Linked DNA regions of Homo sapiens: all the other regions are linked to region 1. Evidence: promoter capture Hi-C in human tissues and cell types (Jung and others, 2019). All regions are on one chromosome and are shown on one strand. Each heading gives the region's core, a stretch centred on a gene start or on the middle of the fragment in contact. The rest is flanking DNA. Distances are from core to core; before and after follow the strand shown. Region 1 holds the start of FLNB (filamin B). Region 2 overlaps KCTD6 (potassium channel tetramerization domain containing 6). Region 3 overlaps PDE12 (phosphodiesterase 12). Region 4 holds the start of ARF4 (ARF GTPase 4).

Region 1 (3,499 bases), core at 525-3,024:
TAAGTGCTCAATGTATGCTGTGGTAGGCAGAGTAATAGCCCCCAAAGACGTTCACATCCTAACTCTCAGGACCTGTGAACATTCCCTTAAATGGCAAAGGGGAATTAAGGTTGCAAACAGGATTAGGGTTCTTAATCGGCTGATTTTAAAATAGGGAGATCATGTTGGACTAACCAGCTGGCCCAATGTCATCTTAAGAGTCCTTAAAAGGGCCAGGTGTGGGGAGGTTGAAGCTGCAGGGAGCCGAGATTGAGTCATAGCACTCCAGTTTGGGAGACGGAGTGAGACAAAAAAAAGGCTGGGCAAGGTGGCTCATGCCTGTAATCCCATCACTTTGGGAGGCAGAGGCTGGTGGATCGCTTGAGGTCAGGAGTTCAAGACCAGCCTGGCCAACATGGTGAAAGCCCGTCTCTATTAAAAATACAAAAATTAGCGGAGCGTGGTGGCGGGTGCCTGTAATCCCAGCCACTCAGGAGGTTGAGGCAAGAGAATTGCTTGAACCCAGGAGGAGGAGGTTGCAGTGAGCCGAGATTGCACCACTGGACTCTAGCCTGGGCAACGGAGTAAGACTCCATCGCAGGAAAAAAAAAAAAAAGGAAGATGTGCCTATGGAGAGAGGACTGTCTGAGGTCTGAGAGACTCCACCTGACATTGCAGGCTTGCTTTTCTGTTTTTTTTTTTTTTTTTTTTTTTTTTGAGACGGAGTTTTGCTCTGTCGCCCAGGCTGGAGTGCAATGGCACCATCTCAGCTCACTGTAACCTCTGCCTCCCAGGTTCAAGCGATTCTCCTATCTCAGCCTTCCCAGTAGCTGGGATTACAGGTACGCGCCACCACACCTGGCTAATTTTTGTATTTTAAGTAGAGATGGGGTTTTACCATGTTGGCCAGGCTGGTCTCGAACTCCTGACCTCAGGTGATCCACCCACCTTGGCCTCCCAAAGTGCTGGGATTACAGGTGTGAGCCATTGTGCCCAGCCCATTGCAGGCTTTCACAGAGAAAAGGGGCAGGAGTCAGGCGCGCAGGCAGCTTCTGGAAGTTAGAAAACACAAGGAAACAGATTCTTCCCTACAGCCTCCAGAAGGGAATGCATCCTGCCAACACTTTGTTTTTAGCTCAGCAAGACCTGTGTGGGCCATCGAACCTACAGAACTGAAGGATAATACATTTGTGGGTGTGTGTTTTCAAAGACACTAAGTTTTGGTAACTTGTTACAGCAGTAACTGGAAACTAAGACATGCAACAAGCCTTATTGTTCATTTTTACCACCACTACTGGGCTGTTGGTTATGGTGGAATTACACTTTTCTCTTCCATTAGGCTGTGTGAACTCCTTGAGGTTGTGCAATACGTTTGTCTGATTTACTACTGGTTAGCAGGCTCTGAGAAGAATGGCTGGTACACAGGCGGAGCTCAATAAAAGCCCTTACTGAATTTTATTCAATCTATATGTGGATGAAGACCTCCGCCCCGCGCGCCCCTCCCGCAAGTCCCACTGAGGCCCGACCCATTCTGTCCGGCTCCCAGCCCCCGCGGGTCCCCCCACCCCGGGGCTGACCGGGTGATTCAGGCAGCCCTACATCCTGCTGGGGTGGTGGGCTTCGAGCGCGGGTCCCAGGACGCAGTGGGGCGCAGTGCCTGCGGCAGGCGGCAGGAGGCGAGCGTGGCCCAGGAACTCCCGCGGGAGGGTCGGGACGGGGCGGGGCTTGGGGGCGGGGCGGCTCAGCGCGCAGGCGCGGGGCCAGGCGCCTCGCGCGGCCAGGGGCGGGCGGCCGCAGAGCAGCACCGGCCGTGGCTCCGGTAGCAGCAAGTTCGAACCCCGCTCCCGCTCCGCTTCGGTTCTCGCTCCTTCGGCCCTTGGGCCTCCAAACACCAGTCCCCGGCAGCTCGTTGCGCATTGCGCTCTCCCCGCCACCAGGATGCCGGTAACCGAGAAGGATCTAGCTGAGGACGCGCCTTGGAAGAAGATCCAGCAGAACACGTTCACACGCTGGTGCAACGAGCACCTCAAGTGCGTGAACAAACGCATCGGCAACCTGCAGACCGACCTGAGCGACGGGCTGCGGCTCATCGCGCTGCTCGAGGTGCTCAGCCAGAAGCGCATGTACCGCAAGTACCATCAGCGGCCCACCTTTCGCCAGATGCAGCTCGAGAATGTGTCCGTGGCGCTCGAGTTCCTGGACCGTGAGAGCATCAAGCTCGTGTCCATCGGTGAGTTCTCTGGCCGGGCCCAGGCGCCCACTGTGGTGCCGACCCGCCCCCGCGCGTGCACCCCTGCGGAGGGCGAGGATTTCCCGCAGCGCGCCCCCACCTCGGAGATAAGGGGGAGTCGTCCCCAGGGGTGGGTTATAGGGGGCCTAGACCCCCTCCCCGGTGTCTTCCCCTGGGATGGGACCTGTTGTGATCGCTCCCCGCCATCCGCCCCAGCAGTGCACCTTTGGCTGGCTAAGGGTTGAGGGTTTGGGCTGGGGTCACAGGAGGAGAGGTGGAGTTGTTGCATTTCTCTACACCTGGGGCGCCCCTATGGGAGCTAGGGGACTAGAAACCCTCGTTCGCTGTCCCCGGGGGCGGGCCCTAGGGTCAGATGCTCCGCGGAGTGCTCTCCCTGCTGCGCCCAGGTTGGTGCTCTCAGAGGCAGCTGAATGGGCGTTGGCTCGGAGGCCGGGCCGTGAGACCTGAGGAGGAACCGTTCTCTGCGCCTGGGGCCTCCCTGCCCAGGTGGAGACAGAGACCTGGTACCTTCCCCTGCCGTCGCTGGAATGGGTGTGGGCCCCGAGGTTGCAAGGGTAGGCGCGGGTGTGTGTCCTCGCTCTCTCTGCTCCCAGCTCAGCTCTGGCCGCGCGCCGCAGGTTGAACCCACTCCTTGCTGCCGAAGTTATAATTTAGAGATGGTGGTGGTAACAGTAATTGCTGTCTTGTAGGGAGCCCAACTAGCGTCCACTGTGTACCGTCAGCCTTCTAAGTTATCTCCGTCCCTACGCATCCTGCCATCTGGGGTGAGGCTAGACCCATTTTACAGATAAGGGGGTCCGGAGGGTTAATTGACCTGTCCAAGGTCAGCAAGTAGGGCCCAGCTGAGAACTGAAGGAAGTGGGCAACAGTTAGAAGGAGGCTTTGTTTTCCTCTCCTCTCCCAAACCTACACCAGGGTCTTCCTGAAAGGAGGGAGGGAATTGGTGTCTCTTGCTGGACTGGGCCTTCTGGTCTGGGGAGGAAGAATAAGGATGAAGTCTCCCTTGTGGTCTGAGATAGTTGGAGGCTTCCCAGAGGGCCACAAGGCTACTGATAGTGTGGGCTGTGATGGTAGGGGCTGTGATGTGTGTGTGCATGTGGGCGTTTGTGCAGAGAACGTGTGTACACACATAGCATGTGTGTATAGCATGTGCATATGCAAAGAGTTTGCATGTACACGGAATGTATGCAGAGAATGTGTATCCACCTACACGTGTGTATGGGTGTGTGTATGTGTGTGTGTGTATGTGGGTGGGTGGGTGTGGGTTGG
Region 2 (3,499 bases), core at 539-3,038, 490 kb after region 1:
CAGGCCAATGCTCTAAATTACTTGTGTTCACACTCAAGTTTCTCATGTTAACCTAGAAATTTTGTTTATGCTGCTGCCACTAATGTTTTCACATTTGTCTAATACTTGCTAGTTTACAGATGGTTTTATATTCATGATCTCCCTTATTTTCTCCATTTCCCCAAAGAAGAAGCTGGGCATAAAGAGTGATTTTCTCAGGGTCTCATAATCAGTAACGGAGCAGAATTCAACTACAGGACCTCCCTGGGAACCTGTTCTCTTTCCTTGTCCTGATGTGTTACTCTTATAGGCCAATTTTTGCCTTTGTGTTGTGCCTAAATGGTGTAATTACCCCGTTTTGGGAAGGTGGTATTATCCCGTTTTATCTTGCGGAAACTGAGGGTTAAGAGGAATGTTATGATTTTGTGACTATTTGTGACAGCTTTTTAATATTAGGTCACTTTTAAACCTATAGCTTCTCTCTTCTAGACCACATGGTTGAGAAAGGAGAAAGAGAAAATGATTACTTGTAGAGAAAAATCCATTTCTGCAGTGGTATGGTTAAGGATAATCTAACCATAATCACATTATCCTTGTATGCCTGGCTACTTATGCTGGCCTGTATGTGAATGTTAACCCCAAAGACTCCTTTAGATGTCGCTGAACTAGTTACTATAAAAAGTATTTCGCTTTCAAACTCCCACATTTCAAGAAGAGCAAAACTCAATACAAGGCAATTTTGAAGGTAAGTATAGAAAGAGGGAGTTTATTGAGTCTTTTCTGACTACCAGACACGAAGGTTTCAGTAAAAAAGCATTTTTAAAGGGCTGCCTGGAAACTCTGGGAAGTCAGTAGTTGGAGTTTTTTATTATTCGTTGGAGGTTTTTATTGCAACATATAGGTAGTTATATAGGATTAGGACTTTTGCCCCGGAGAATTCTTAATCTATAGCAGGAATGATAAACCCAGAATATTTTTGTTAAGTTAGTTCATCATAACCATTAGGCCTGTAATTGCAATTCTGCAGTGATAGGGAGAATGGCATTTAAGGGTTCTTAGGTTATTTTTTTAAGTTATTAACTTACTGAATTATGTATGCATTTCTTCAGATATGCTACTTTAGAAAATTAATACTTCCTTTTAAGGTTTCTATAAATTCTTCAGTATGTGTTTTCTTAAGCTTAATTACCTGCTAACATGACACTGTCAGAATTTATACATTAGTCACAATAACCTTTGAAGCTTAAACATGGTTGAATTTTCAGCACTGCTTTATATTCTTTGGGGAGTGGGCAGTGTTGTTTTCACAAGAATTTTATTTGCATCAAAGGTTACATCTTTTCAGGTGAACTGATTTTTCAGGGTCAGAGGCTTCTTTGAATTTTATAGCTGTTTGTGCTCGGTTGCATTTGCTGTCTTTCAAAACCATCTTTAGTTTTAGTAAGGAAAGTCACTATAAAGGAAAAATTTTTTATTGTTACCATTCCTGGTAGATTTTCTGAAATATTAGATATTTCTTTGCTTTCATCAAGTAAAATAGGCCTATTTGATACCCATTTCAAGATCTTCCTTCTGCTGCCTGTCTTGTGGTCATTTAACTTCTCATTAAGCCCTCCACTGGAGACTGTGCCAGAAGGGAGAGAAGATGAAAAGCAAATGAATCATTTTCTAATTGTTAGTAGCTCTGGAAAATGATTCAGTAGAAGAGATTGAAACTATTCTGGAAATTCTTTGGGATTGTATTTCATTCATCTGCATCGTTTCAGAGATGTTCCTAATGGTCGTCAATTCAGAATTCAGAAGCCGATCATTATCCAGCTATTGGATAACAGGGAATTTTTCATGCTTTTTTTTTGTTTGTTTGTTTCTTGCTGTATTTAAGCATCTCCACAGAAGATATTTAGAAGCAGGTAGAGATAAAATTTAAACTAATCAATACTGTTTTTTCCCTTTGAACTCTTTAATGCACAATTTGATTTCTTTAGACAGTTTACTCATTGTTATTGGAAGTGACTAATAGTAACTTTGCTTCAATTTATTTTGATGTATCTTATACACAAGTATAGGAAGGCTTTTGGGTGGTTTTTAAGAAACATGGGCTGTAGATTCCCATAATTGCTTTCCTGAATTATTAAGCGTGAGCTTTCATTACATCTTTGTACCGGAACTTTTGCTTTTGCTGTGGAACAGATTCAGGGACATCGTCTAATTTTTTTTTTTTTTTTTTTAGATAACTGCTCAAGAAGTTACCTTGTTTTGATTTAGCAGTAAAAAAGAAAAAAAGGGTTAATAGTGGACAGACTTTTCGTTAACGGCTGCAACATTGATGTCTGCTTTTTTCCTTGTCTTTGATCTTCTGTTTCTCATTTAATCATTTGGATATTCACGGATTGGAGTTCTTTATGTCACTACAGACAGGACAGCAACCGTTATTCACACTAGTTGAATGGGTTCCTGCCTTTTTTTGGTGGGGGGGCCTCAGGAGAATTTTTACAAACCCATTATGACTGTTTAGTTAGGCTGAGTTACTGTAAAATTTGTAAATAAAACCCTACTGGATGGATAGGGTTAATAGATGGCTATAGAGAGTTTAAAGTTAAGCTTTTTCAATTTCTTGTCTCTTGGATTCTGTTCTTTCAATTTCTACCCTAGGAGGGGATTTATGGAAAAATCTAGACTAAGAGTCAGAACATGCAAGTTCTTATCTAGTTACTTCCCAGCTGTGGCGCCCTCAGCTAGTCACTTAATCTGCCTTGTTTCTCTGTTTTGCATCTTTAAGATGAGGATAGTAATCCCTGCTCGGCCTACTGGTATCAGGAATGTTGTAGGGGGAAAAAAAGTCTTTCATGCCCCTGTCTATTAAATTGTTTCTTCCTTCTAGAATCCCTTCTCAGGTTGTCCGAATTTTCTTTCAAGGATTCAACTGAATGGGCTCTTCCCAGAAGTCCTCTATTTCCCATTTGAAATCTTGCTTTTCCCCTCTCACGGGCCTCTGCTGGTCCATCTGTTATACAGCACTTTGAATTCTGTTCTGTACTTCAGTCATTGCATGTTGCCTTCCATTATAGATGGAAAGCTCCATGAGGGCAAAGATTGTCTTTTTCCTCTTTCTGTGTGTCCGCATTGCACATAGGCACCCCCTCCACTCCATAGGTGACCCACAATAATTGTTGGCTGAATGAATGATTATTGAGGCTGTCAGAATGAATACTTTGGGTGATGGGAAAATGCCAAAGATGAGCATCTTACCAGAACTTTTGGATGAGTGGCCTTTTAAATTGCTCAGTTACTAATCTGTTGTTATCAGTAACTGAATCAGATCCTGGCAAGACAAATTGGCAAAGCCCATTTCTTGGTCCTGTTTACTTCGGATACTATTTGTGAAGCAAGTCAGAGGAATGAAAGACTGTCATAACAGTCTTGAATTTGACATTTGTTCCATTTCTCACCCCATAGCATGTGGAGGCCTGTCTATATCCAACTGCTGAGTGTAAAGAATAAAAACTGACTGCCCCATAGT
Region 3 (3,499 bases), core at 580-3,079, 450 kb before region 1:
TACAGCACATTACTTTATGAGAAACTACCTACTGATATGGGCTTGAAATTTTGGATGAATCATTGAGCATTTCTACACTAGAAGTAATTTCAAAATTGTTGGTTTTTATAAACAGGAAAAAGGTTGAGTAGTGGGACTTTTAAGCATCTCTGAAATAAAAAACTTCTTTTTACAGACAAGCATTATAGTTTGAGTTACAGACAACAGTGTGTATATATGTAATATATATATAGTAAAATGAAATTTAAATATGAAGCCAAACTTTTTAAAATTAGAAACTACAAATGGTTATACTGATTAGTGTCTAGCCTAGAGTGGTAACCATGCTTTACTAATTCAGTTATGAAATACATTATTTATAATGCATTAGCTGTATTAGCTGTTGCTTTTTTGATGTTCAGGATAACTATGTTATCTCATTTCTGCATTTAATTAATAGCTCGAGTATTAAAAGCCCACTCCCTTCAAGAAAAGCTTTGATTTTCCCCAGTCATGAAAGCCCTTGTTTCAAATTCTTTAATCTCTGAACCTAGTATCATAAGAATTTCCTCTTTTGATAACATCTGTACTTTCATATTCTGCTCACTATCAAATGTATTGTTAACACTTAGTAAGTTTGAAAATGAAGGGGTTTTATCTGCATTTGACATTGAACCTTGAAGTACTTTAAGTACTCCAAGGGGAAAATTAAAGTGGAAGTTTCTTCGGATCTTGTTTAGAAAAAACTATAAATAAAAAATTGATGCTACCAAATTGTGCCTTCCTAAATAACATTTTTGAGAGCATTTTAACAGCAGTTTACAAATATGTAAATAATAGATTAAAACCAAATCTTGATTCTCTTGTGAATTTTTTTTTCATTTTAAAAATATGTTTTTGGGCTGTTTTCAAAGAAAGATGTTGATAGAACCCTTAGAGTGACTTGGGAGAAAACAAAGTGTCACATCAAAAAGTTGAGAAACATTTTGAAAGAAAAAATTCGAACATGCCCATGAAAAAAGCATACAGCTTCCACATTAACACTGGCTAGATTAAACTCTAGTCAGAAAAACTCAGCACTTAACAGACATTCCATGTCCTATATCCTTAATTTTGATGTTTTCTGACTAAACAATATACTCAGATTGTATACAGGCATTTCACATTATTAGGACATGGAATGTTATTGTGAAGTGCCATATACTGTGATCAAATCTCCAGTATACGGATACGTTAAAATGATTGGAGTCCAAAGGTAGGGAACACTAAGAAAATGTATAAATAGCATACACATTTCTTTGTACTCATGAGTTAGAATGCAGTGTTATTCAGAAATGTCTGTTTAAAGCACCTATGTGATTGCATTTTTCTATTACATTTGGATTTTTTAGTACATTTAATTTTAAGAAAACATGGGAAATCTAGCGACTTTCTATGGTAAACCACATTTTATAATGTCACAAGTTCTTGCTATAGGAATTAACATTCTAGAATTTTATATTGATTATAAAAGAGTATTTCAGAACATATTATTCTGTTAAAATGAACTCTTGCACAGTTGCCGCTACAGCAAATGTGTCTGCCAATAATCAAAATTCATGAGCAAACAATCGTTTCTGGCTGTAATGTATGTTCTTTTTGAAATTCTGTATGCTAAAATCAGTTGTTTCAAAATTTCAAGAATTCCACTGAGTAGTGATTTTTCTGAGTACTAAGCTATGATCTCATCAGAATGTGCTGGTTTCAGTCTGGAGATAGATTTCTGAGGAGCCTAATACAAGGGAGAGAATGTCCAAAGAACACTACTGTGGAAAGTTCTTACGATGGAAATTGACATCTTTTGTATCTCATTCTCCAGCCGTGAAATAAAGGCAGAGGTTCCCTGCAAACTAGTTTGGTTGGGATAAATCCAATATTTATATATAATGAAAAATAAAAGTTTGCATTATTAGTTTATCACAAGACCCATGTGACAACTCAGAAAATATTCTCAGCATAATTTTTTTAAGAGATAGAGTCTCACTGTTACCCAGGCTGGAGTGCAGTGGTGCAGTCATAACTTACTACAGCCTCAAACTGCGGGGCTCAAATGATCCTCCTGCCTCAGCGTCCCAAGTAGTTGAGATTACAAGCCCAACCTTCCATAACTGAAAACTAACTTTCTTTTTTTCTTTTTTTATTATTATACTTTAAGTTCTAGTGTACATGTGCCCAACGTGCAGATTTGTTACATAGGTATACATGTGCCATGTTGGTTTGCTGCACCCGTTAACTCGTCATTTACATTAGGTATTTCTCCTAATGCTATCCCTCCCCCAGCCCTGAAAATGAATTTTTTAAACACAAATAAAAAATATTTCAGTGTTTTGAGAATTTTAATAATTTGCTTAATATAGTACAGGAAGGCAACACTATCTAGAGGGCCAGGCATAGTGGCTCTTGACTGTAATCACAACATTTTGGGAGGCTGAGGCAGGAGGATCACTTGAGCTGAGGAGTTCAAGACCAGCCTTGGCAACATTGTGAGACCCTATCTCTGCAAAAAATAAAATTAACCAGGCATGGTGGTGCATGCCTGTAGTCCCAGCTGCTCAGGAGGCTGAGGCCAGAGGATCACTTGAGCCCATGAGGTCAAGCCTGCAGTGAGTTGTGATCAAGGTGCGCTGCACTCCAGCCTGGGTAATAGAGCAAGACCCTGTCTTCAAAAAACCACTCTAGATTTCATGTTGTAGGGGGTAGGGAGGACAATTTTTAACAGCTTTAACTGACATGGGTAATATATAAGTTCTGTGTTCTCACTTTATATGAAAGTACTTTTTTAAATGTTAAAAATACTAGAGCTGTATTAACTTCGTGATTTTATTTTTCTTCTTAGCACTAACTTCAAAATAACCATACAGTACTGCTTGTAATTTTTGTATTTTTAGTAGAGACAGGGTTTCACCATATTGGCCAGGCTGGTCTTGAACTCCTGAACTCAAGTGATCTGCCTGCCTCAGCCTCTGAAAGTGCTGGGATTACAGGCATGAGCCACGGTACCCGGCCTAAATTTTAATTTTATATATAAATGGCAAAATAATCTTAAATATAGTAAATCTGTTCACCTATCTGCTATGCTAGCAAATTCTGGGTTGTCAAAAATCCATGTTCATACTGTCAGTGTTAGATTTTTACTCATAATTTAAAATTTCCCCGCAAAATTTCACAGAAAACTGAATTATTCATCTCTATCTTCTGTCCAATTTATGTAATGAATGTATGTCAAAGCATTTATATAACACAGTCCATTTTGCCCAGTAATTCACTTTAATGATGTTATCATGAAGTATTGATGTACTTTTTTTTTAGTGTATTGAAGTATTCCTAGGTTGCATTTGTGCTAGTTTCATACCATTTGTGTTCCTTATATATTGAAGATGGTTCAGTAGGGGAAATGGATAGGCTTTATTTAGTTGGCTTTCTTATACTGGATAATATAAACACTTTTTTTTTCTTTTTTGAGACAGGGTCTGGCTTTGTC
Region 4 (3,499 bases), core at 437-2,936, 410 kb before region 1:
AAAACCTCCGGCCGGGCGCGGTGGCTCACGCCTGTAATCCCAGCACTCTGGGAAGCCTGGGTGGGTGGATCACCTGAGGTGAGGAGTTCGAGACCAGACTGGCCAACGTGGTGAAACCCCCGTCTCTACTAATAATACAAAAAATTAGCCAGGCGTGGTGTTGCATGCCTGTAATCCCAGCTACTCGGGAGGCTGAGGCAGGAGAATCTCTTGAACCCGGGAGGTGGAGGTTGCAGTGAGCCGAGATTGCGCCACTGCACTCCAGCCTGGGTGACAAGAGCAAAACTCCGTCTGCAAAAAAAAAAAAGGAAGAGAAAAATAAAACCTCCTCCGGTAGAAAACAAGCTAATGAACCAACAAGTTTCAACGTTCAAAGTTAGAGGGGCTTCTTTCAGCGTTATTCTAGTCCATGGAGCTCAGCTGTGATGTAGACTGCTTACAGTAACCGGGAGCGGTTGCTTACTTCAGCCAACTGACAGCCCTTCTCCCTCAGCTGAGCAAAAACACGCCCCCTAAAAAGTAGTTTTTAAAAAGTCAACTTTCTAAAAAGAAATTTTAAAAAAATTGTAGTTACTATTTAACAAGACTACCATAAAATTCAGCGTCATGATGTTCAGTTACTTGAAAATTTATCAGGTATTTTTTAAAAATTCGTTTCTAAAATTTTTTTGCATTAGACCTTAGACCGCCTAAAAATAAGCTTAAAAACCTAGGAGAATAAACCAAACACATTTAAAGTTTTTGAAAATAGTCAAAGAAATAGAAGATAAGCTCAGTTTTCGGAGAATGAGATTAACAAGGAGCGAAAAACTTGAAACGGAATCCAGCGCAAGGCCAAGTTTAGCAAAGTGAGCGCTGAAGGACTCCAGACTCTTCGGAAACCTTGGGTGCTCCCTGGCCACCGCAACTTCCTGCCCCGGGCGGCTCCAGGCTCCGGGTGGCCGCTGGCTTACATACCAATGGAGTATGCAGGGACTGTACACGAAACGCAGAAGGGGAGGGAAAAGGCTGGAGTTGCTCTGCCTCCCTCCTGACCGCTGTCCACACCCGGGCAAGAAGGTATGCAGATCGCACCCCCAGAAAGGGCCTCGCCAAGTGTTTGCTTCCCAGAGTTGGCTTTCCCCACATCTCTGCCCAATGTTGTCCAGCTTTCAATAAGATCAAGGAGAAAAAGCCGAGTCCAGAAAGAAATCTTGCCCGAAGCCCTGTCCCTGTCTCGTCTGGCGACAGATCGGGGGCGGGGGGGATCGCTCACCCTCCGCTCCATTGTTCCCCCTTAAGAATTCCTTCCGACCCCCGACCCGGCGCCCCTCCCCCACCACAGCGGGCGGAGGAAAAAAACAGGCCCAGAGGCCACCCCAATTGTGGAGACCCTGCCTTTCCCAGGTCCCGCCTGACTCGCAGCCCCTCACTCACCCATCAAAATGCGCATCTGCTTCTTGCCAAATAGTCGGGAGAAGAGGGAGGAGATAGTGAGGCCCATGGCGGTAGTGGCACTTGTGATGGGCAGAAGCAGAAGGGGTTTGGGGCGACCCCGTGCTTTCTCCTTTCAAGCTCCCAGGCAAACTAAACGAGAGGGAAGAGAAAGAGCGGAGGAAGAAAGAGGGAGGCAGAAACGTCTCAGTGGCCCCTGTGCCGATGAAGATCCGGCACAGGAATAAGCCGGTAGAGGACCTGCTAGGCGACTGGCGCGGCAGCTCCGGCTCTAGCCTTTAGGCTCTGGCTGTGCCACGTCACGCGGCGGCCGCGGCGACTCCAGCAGCGGCCCGGCCCCTCCAACGCGGACAGAATCGCGTCACCGCCGCCCCATCCCCCTGCGCTTCCGGTGCGCCCGAGCCACTGCGCTTGCGCCTGCAGGGGATTGGCCAGTTTCGCTGACGAGCATCTCTCGACGGCGCCACCGCCCGGACGTGGCCCCAGGAGCCGGGAGAGGCCGGCTGAGGCACATGCGTACTGGGAGACGGACAAAGTCCCACAATACCTCGCTTCGTCACTGCCAAATCAGACTCAGGGTGAGACGCTTCCGCCCGGATGAAGGTATTGTCGGGGTGATAGTCCTTGCTTCCGGAAAGGCGAGCTGAGCATTATGGGTTAGGTGAGGAACCTCGCCCTCTTCTATTACGGTACGCGCGATGGGTATTCCCTGATGCCATGAACTTACACGTTTCACACACGGGACCAGACGCTTGCTTTAGTTGACGCATGAAGACCGGTCCGGTCTTTTGCGGAGAAAAGTGGTTAAAAGCTGACTTGTGGGCCGAGAAACTGTGGCACCCTAATGAGCTAGGGCTAGACGCTTCGACCACCACGCCAAGTGATTCTGAAGATCTCTAATTCTGTCAAGGCGAGAGCGCTCCAACACGTGTTCATCGGCTGTTGCTTTTTAAAGAGAAGGCAAGGAGGAAGTCTTGCTTTTCTTGTACTTTTTTTCCTAGAAGCAGCATTAAAGATTTACTCCTTATGTTGAGGAAGCGGAAAGCCTCTTCACTTTAAAAGTGTTTATGATCGGGCCTGGCGCGGTGACTCACCGCGCCCGGCCTGCTACACCTTTTAAAATTCACAGCAATGATAAATGTATTAGACTCATTGCCAGGATAAAGATTTAATCTATTTTTCTAGTAGTGCCGTCCTATGTGGTTCTGTAGTTGCTTATTCCAACTGGTATATTTCCATAGGATGGGGTTGAATAAGAAAAACTTGCAAACTTTCAGAAACAGTAAGTTATTTTTATATTTTTGAAGGCTTGCTGAGTAACGCTTCTCTTGGTAGCACTACCTTATCTACCCTTCAGAGACTGTTATTTCTTAGGAGTGGCCCTGGGCAATTAAAAGCAAAAACTTCTGGCCGGGCATAGTGGCTCATGCCTGTAATCCCAGCACTTTGGGAGGCCGAGGCGGGCAGATTACGAGGTCAGGAGATCGAGACCATCCTGGCTAACACGGTGAAACCCAGTCTCTACTAAAAATAGAATAAATTAACCGGGCGTGGTGGCGGGTGCCTATACTCCCAGCTACTCCGGAGGCTGAGGCAGAAGAATGGCGTGAACCCGGGAGGCGGAGGTTGCAGTGAGCGGAGATCGCGCCCCTGCACTCCAGCCTGGGCGACAGAGCGAGACTGTCTTAAAAAAACAAACAACAACAACAAAAAAACCCCAAAAACTTCTTTACTCAGAAGTACCCTCCTTTGCATTGGAGATACATGTAAAGAGTTGCTTAGCAGTTGAATAACTCAAAATTGCATTTTGGAAGCTTGCTAAGTGACAAGACCTTCTTGTATCCTTTTGTGAACCCCCAAAATATGAGACAGGCCTCAGTTAATTTAGAAAGTTAATTTTGCCAAAGTTGAGGACACGCGTCCATGACATAGCCTCAGGAGGTCTTGTAGACATGTGCCCAAGGTGATCAGAGCACGGTTTGGTTTTATACATTCTAGGGAGAAATGAGACATCAATCAATATATGTAAGATGAACATTGGTTCATTCTGGAAAGACTGGACAAC

The links. The method cuts DNA at HindIII sites, captures the fragments that hold promoters and counts their contacts. A contact is called where the count stands out against the background at its distance.
Region 2: a contact is called between a fragment that was not itself captured here and the fragment with the promoter of FLNB in region 1, in 1 of the 25 tissues and cell types used here (hippocampus).
Region 3: a contact is called between a fragment that was not itself captured here and the fragment with the promoter of FLNB in region 1, in 1 of the 25 tissues and cell types used here (dorsolateral prefrontal cortex).
Region 4: a contact is called between the fragment with the promoter of ARF4 here and the fragment with the promoter of FLNB in region 1, in 1 of the 25 tissues and cell types used here (heart right ventricle).

The regions. Positions count from the first base shown.
Region 1 is chr3:58,006,648-58,010,146 of GRCh38, forward strand. FLNB (filamin B) reads left to right here and starts at 1,775. Exons shown (of 46, transcript NM_001457.4): 1 at 1,775-2,209. The coding sequence starts at 1,918. The HindIII fragment of the contact is 12,217 bases long and covers 1-3,499 here.
Region 2 is chr3:58,493,685-58,497,183 of GRCh38, forward strand. All of the region lies in intron 1 of KCTD6 (potassium channel tetramerization domain containing 6), which reads left to right. Among named protein-coding and RNA genes, the nearest start is that of KCTD6, 3.3 kb to the left of the region's middle. The HindIII fragment of the contact is 5,212 bases long and covers 1-3,499 here.
Region 3 is chr3:57,561,205-57,564,703 of GRCh38, forward strand. PDE12 (phosphodiesterase 12) reads left to right here. Exons shown (of 3, transcript NM_177966.7): 3 at 1-3,499. Among named protein-coding and RNA genes, the nearest start is that of PDE12, 6.7 kb to the left of the region's middle. The HindIII fragment of the contact is 8,870 bases long and covers 1-3,499 here.
Region 4 is chr3:57,595,658-57,599,156 of GRCh38, forward strand. It overlaps ARF4 (ARF GTPase 4), which reads right to left and starts at 1,687. Exons shown (of 6, transcript NM_001660.4): 1 at 1,417-1,687. The coding sequence starts at 1,483. It overlaps ARF4-AS1 (ARF4 antisense RNA 1), which reads left to right and starts at 2,132. Exons shown (of 2, transcript NR_132370.1): 1 at 2,132-2,394. It also overlaps a transcript of PDE12 not described here. RefSeq lists enhancers at 1,091-1,140, 1,161-1,310, 1,224-2,423, 1,299-2,004, 1,341-1,390 and 4 more. The HindIII fragment of the contact is 4,316 bases long and covers 331-3,499 here.